2 separate regions of the Homo sapiens genome follow, and region 1 is linked to region 2. The links are contacts of gene promoters, found by promoter capture Hi-C in blood cells and fetal thymus (Javierre and others, 2016). All regions are on one chromosome and are shown on one strand. Each heading gives the region's core, a stretch centred on a gene start or on the middle of the fragment in contact. The rest is flanking DNA. Distances are from core to core; before and after follow the strand shown. Region 1 has its middle 4.4 kb from the start of RAP2A. Region 2 holds the start of LINC00449 (long intergenic non-protein coding RNA 449).

Region 1 (2,700 bases), core at 81-2,580, 2.1 Mb before region 2:
AAGATTTTCCTACAGGAAGGTACAAAAAGGCATTCTAGTGAAAACATTTTAAATTACACTATTTACCAAAAAGCCTACCTTTATGTATTACTGCTCTATTGAAATTTTTCTTTTCAAACAAATTCCATTCATTTCTACATAATGCATGTCAATAACAGCTATCATGGAAAAATAACAAGCAAAAACTGTTTTTCTACCTGTCTTCATTTTTTGCCACTCCTCATGTTTCCTTCTATTTCTATTTGTGAAAGTTTGAATCCCTCCTTCTTGATGCCCTTAAATCCATAATTACTTCTTATGACAACTCTTTTGACGCCCACATTATAAATTATTCATTATTTTGAATGACGCCTTAATTTCAAATGCACTCTTGTACTCCTACTTTGTCTTCTGTATTTTTCTCCTATATTATTTTTATACCTTTAAATAATCTTGCTTTGAGACTTCTGGCATCTTTCTGTCTTTTTCTCTGAGAGATGCCCCTAGAATGCTGTTGCTACAGGGAATTTAAAAAATCAAGTGATTCTGGTATTTCCCTCATTCACTCTTACTTCATTCCTGCTTTCTTCCTTTGCTCTTCTGGTTCCTTACATCTAGAGTGCTCTCTTCTGCCCCATCTAGCCTGTCCTTTCGCCACTTCCTTCAAAACCTGATACAATATTAATTTGCTTCAGACAACTCTCCTGGACTAACCTACTCCAATTTACTGTTTCTCTCGACCTCTGGGAATGTCAGTAAAAACTATACATTTCATTCTCATTTACTTGGAAAGTGTTTGTTTTTGTAATTTCATTCAGTTATTTAGTTATATATTTTGTAATATTTTATTATTTATATAATTACTATATACCCTTTCTAATTCCTGATTTTTCCTTATTAGTTTTAAGCATAACCATTATTTTATAATATAAACATGTAATTGGTTGCTTAATATCTGTCTCTCCTGCTAGAATACAAGCTCTTTTGGCTAATTGCTTATTGTTTTATCCCCAGAGCCTAAAAAATATACACAGTAATTACTCAATTAATATTATAGTATCTTTGAACTATCGTTCAGATATTAGTGAAATGAAAGTGCTCACAAATGCTTGCTGATTTTTTAAAGCCCGATTTTGGCTGGAATCCCTCATACTTTTTGTTAACAGGTGGGATGTATTTTGCTGTAAGATGCAGAAAACCTTACCAACACACACTTAAATTGAAAGACACCAGCTGTTTACTTAGCCATAAGTCCAAATGTGGGCAGTTCTAATGTTGGTTTGACTGTCCAATGTTGTCATGCAGGACCTAGGTTCTTCCCATCCTCCTCCCTGGCCATCCGAAGTTGCTGGCTTTCTACAGTATTGCACCATAATGTCATAATGCATCATAGCCCCCAAATGGAGGCCACATTCTCATATTTCAATGTGTAAAGCAGGAAGCAAAGAGAGCGACATCAGAAAACGGGGATATTTCCTCACTCTTGTCAATATCCTAGAAATCCCTCCAGCCCTAGCAGCCTTCTCCCCATTCCAATGACAAGAACTGAGTCACGTGCCTACTTTTGGACTAACCGTGGGCAGAGGGAAAGCAATGCTATTAAAGTCCAATCCTGATTCATCCCAGCTTCTTTGGCAAAAATAAAGGGAAACTGCTGGGTACGCAAGCAACACTGTGCCTGCTCTTCTGCTTTGTTAAATGAACCACACTGAAGCTCTGTTTTCCGCAGAATCCTCTAGCTCTTAAGATTCTTCAGGCTTTTTCTTTTTTCTGCCTACATTTTAATCATTACGTCTTTTCTTTCAGATTTTTTTTCTGATTAAAATGGCCTTTTGAAACATCTACTCTCTCCACCCATACGTTTCTTTTATTGAGTTGTTTCCATACTCTTAATTTCTGCATTCTAATTCCTTTTCTTTTCAAAAGCACTGAGACATATCACATTTTTTAAAGGAAGAACAAAGTTTATTTTGCCCCTTCCTTTCCACTCCACATATATACTGCAGATTCTCAACTGTATTAGGAGCCTCACAGGTCAAGAAACCATCGTCTGCTCTCCTTATACTTGCCAGCAGCGTTTCACAGGTGCTAAATGTACTTGACATGCCCTTCCCCTTTATGTTTAATCAGAGGCATGCAGGCTTTAATAAGAAGCATTAGGAATCAGGGTTTTACAGTCGAAAAGTACCCCTCGCATTACAAACATCCTCTACTAATTTGTTTCTATTAAATTATCTGCATATTTGCTTCTTGCTGGTGTCAGGAAGTCCCAGAATACAGTACCTTTCCCACTTCATACCACCTTTTCCAACACCTTTTACAGAAAGAAAGGATGGACTTGGGTTTCCACGGTAACACAAGTGCGATAATTGAAGGTATCTGGCTATAGGTGAGATAACTCCCTTTCAGATTTAGTGGAGAGAGGAGAAATGAAGATTTTCTTTCTTTTTATTCTCCTGGCAATGCACTTTGGAAACTAAAGGGATCCTGCAGTGTCAGTTACTGCGTTAAGTTTTCACTATCTTACAGATTTACAGCTCTTGGGAATAATTCAAATTTCTTTTATATCATTTTTATTTTTTATTTCCCACAAACAAATGAAGATATAAGTTATTTCTATAATCATCTCAAAATAGAGTTTATGCTGGCATCGGAATGAACATGACTAAGGGGTTAGAAAATAGACATCCATCTCCCACCCAAGTCCTCTAAATTCTCTAC
Region 2 (2,700 bases), core at 95-2,594:
CACGCCATTCTCCTGCCTCAGCCTCCCAAGTAGCTGGGACTACAGGAGCCCGCCACCACGCTCGGCTAATTTTTTTGTATTTTTAGTAGAGACGGGGTTTCACCGTGTTAGCCAGGATGGTCTCGATCTTCTGACCTCGTGATCCGCCCATCTCGGCCTCCCAAAGTGCTGGGATTACAGGCGTGAGCCACCGCGCCGGCCGAAGGTCAAGTTTCAGTGGTGCTAGGAAAAGAAGATAGTGAGCAAAAATGTTAATTTTTGTTTCCTCCTCTTAATATTTGGAGAAAACGTCTGCTTCCTTTTGTTATATTGGAAATCTCCATGACTTCCAAATACAGAATATTTTACAATTTTTCCCTATCCCAAAGTTCAGCGAATATGTTGATTTATTTGAGGGAGAGGACATGAAAGGGAAGCCACCTAGGCACAATTTTCTGCTCAGGCCCTACCAGATTAGTTTTTGTTATCAAAAAAAAAAAAAAAAGTGCCATTCCTTGGGCCAAGCTATGTGCTCAGCACTTTCCCTCCATTTTTGATTTAATCTTCACAACAACCTTAAGATGAACGTTCTTTTCTACTTCCCAGTTCTCTTGATTAACTTGGCTACCCCACTATATGGATCAATTTGCAGGGTCCTAGGTCCCTTTGAAAATCTGATGAAAGTTATAAACCTTACCTGGGAAAAAAGTACAAACACCCGCAAGAACTTGAAATAGGAGTTCACTGGCCCTCAACTTTCTGAGCTTACTATTTCACAAACCTGCCTATTCTTGAATTCTGAGCTGGAGGTCATGATTCTCTCTTATGTACTTTAAGATGATGCACTCTTCCGAAGTTTTTGATTGAACTCTAGTGGCTAACTGAATTGACTTTTTCAGATCACTAAAAAGCTTCTCCTTGAAAAATACTCAGAAGATGCAACACACACACACACACACGTGTGTGCACTTACACACGCGGACACCGTCTCACATCATCAGTGGGAAAAGTGATAGAATCTTGCTAAAGGCTGATCATACCATATTAATCCGATTCGCCAGAACTACTTTCTTCACTGAGCTCTCAGGTATGCTCGGGTCTTCCTTTAAAGAAAATAAATGTCAACGCTACACTCTATCCTACTCCCATTTTCCTCCTCACCCCATTTCCACTCTCCCTTAAAGAGATGTGTGCACACAATCACTGCCCAATGCAAGAATGCACCACTGCATCCAATGCTTGGAAATTGTCCGTGAAGATGCCTTTGAGTAGCTGTCTATTTGAGGATTTGTGGCTAATTCCTCCCCATTTGTTTCCTTAGCCTGCTCCCAACCAGGTGTCTCCAGAACTTTTTCTCTCCGCCACCAACTCCGCCTCCAGACAGACCGCAGGTGCTTTCTGTCATAGGGACTGGCGTGCCGCGGACAGTGTGACAAAGAAACTGTATGATGGATATGAGAACTTCGTAAGACCCAGCAGCAAACGGGGAGCGGCTGGCGAGCGCTCCACAGCCCCCAAGCGTGGGAGCTCTAGATCGGAATTTGTAATTTGGAATTGGAACGTGAGCGCCGGAACAGCTCTCCCAGCAACCACCTCTCCCAGCAACCACCTCAGCTGGCGCGCGGAAAACCCGGAAAGTGGATTTCGCCCCCGCTCCCTCCCGGAAACTCCTCCTGGTGCCTGCGACCGTTCTCACTGAGCATGTGCAGACGGCGGTGCGCATGCTCTGTTGCGGTCCGCTTCGGTTTCTGTTGCGGGACCCGGGGTGTCTCCTAGCGCAACCGGAACTAGCCTTCTGGGGGCCGGCTTCCTTTATCTCTGGCGGCCTTGTAGTCGTCTCCGAGACTCCCCACCCCTCCTTCCCTCTTGACCCCCTAGGTTTGATTGCCCTTTCCCCGAAACAACTATCATGAGCGCGAGGCTGCCGGTGTTGTCTCCACCTCGGTGGCCGCGGCTGTTGCTGCTGTCGCTGCTCCTGCTGGGGGCGGTTCCTGGCCCGCGCCGGAGCGGCGCTTTCTACCTGCCCGGCCTGGCGCCCGTCAACTTCTGCGACGAAGAAAAAAAGAGCGACGAGTGCAAGGTGGGTGAGGCCTGACGAGCCCTCTGATGCACTGTTGGAAGGGGAAGTCGTCCCTATCCGGGGGAGCTGATCCTCGGGTGGGAGCGAGGGAAGGGGGCGTAGCAGCGGGTGGGGTTGAGTTTCCCCAGAAGCTTTTGGGGTCTGCTGGGCTGTGGGTGGGGGGCTCTGAAACAGCCCTTGCAAGGGTAGTTTCTGGAGGACGCAGTGGGCCTCAGACTCGCCTCCCGTCTTGCGGGCCAAGTGGCACGAGCAGCTGTATTCAGTTTTCCTGGAACAGGGACCGTGTGGAGCGCCCTTGGAGTTGGGCTTCACGCCTCAGAGCTTTGGAGTTGGATGTATGCAGGTCCACGCGTGAGTGTTCGCTCACAGCCCTGTAACATGTACGCTGAGGAAGCGGGTGACCGACTCCCTACATGTGAGCAACACTCAGCCTAGTTAACAGTTTCCATTAGCTTTTAACTTCATTGCTTCCTGTTTAATTGCATTTTCCTGGAACCTTCTAGTTGGTTAGGAGAGCTTGTTCTTTCTAGGACTTTGATATCTCGCTTCACAATTAGAAGTTGGTTCCTTATTTGTGGAGTATAACACCCAGAGCCACACAAAGTGCATTAATAAAGAGTTGCTGTAATGGTTGAGGCACT

What was found. The method cuts DNA at HindIII sites, captures the fragments that hold promoters and counts their contacts. A CHiCAGO score of 5 or more calls a contact.
Region 1: a contact is called between a fragment that was not itself captured here and the fragment with the promoter of LINC00449 in region 2, in 2 of 17 cell types (fetal thymus and naive B cells). The highest score is 11.9, in fetal thymus.

Annotation. Positions count from the first base shown.
Region 1 is chr13:97,428,396-97,431,095 of GRCh38, forward strand. No RefSeq gene overlaps it. Among named protein-coding and RNA genes, the nearest start is that of RAP2A, 4.4 kb to the right of the region's middle. The HindIII fragment of the contact is 3,897 bases long and covers 1-2,700 here.
Region 2 is chr13:99,499,719-99,502,418 of GRCh38, forward strand. LINC00449 (long intergenic non-protein coding RNA 449) reads right to left here and starts at 1,345. Exons shown (of 2, transcript NR_133664.1): 1 at 677-1,345; 2 at 5-222. It overlaps TM9SF2 (transmembrane 9 superfamily member 2), which reads left to right and starts at 1,754. Exons shown (of 17, transcript NM_004800.3): 1 at 1,754-2,059. The coding sequence starts at 1,889. RefSeq lists enhancers at 1,460-1,639, 1,546-2,134. The HindIII fragment of the contact is 1,300 bases long and covers 889-2,188 here.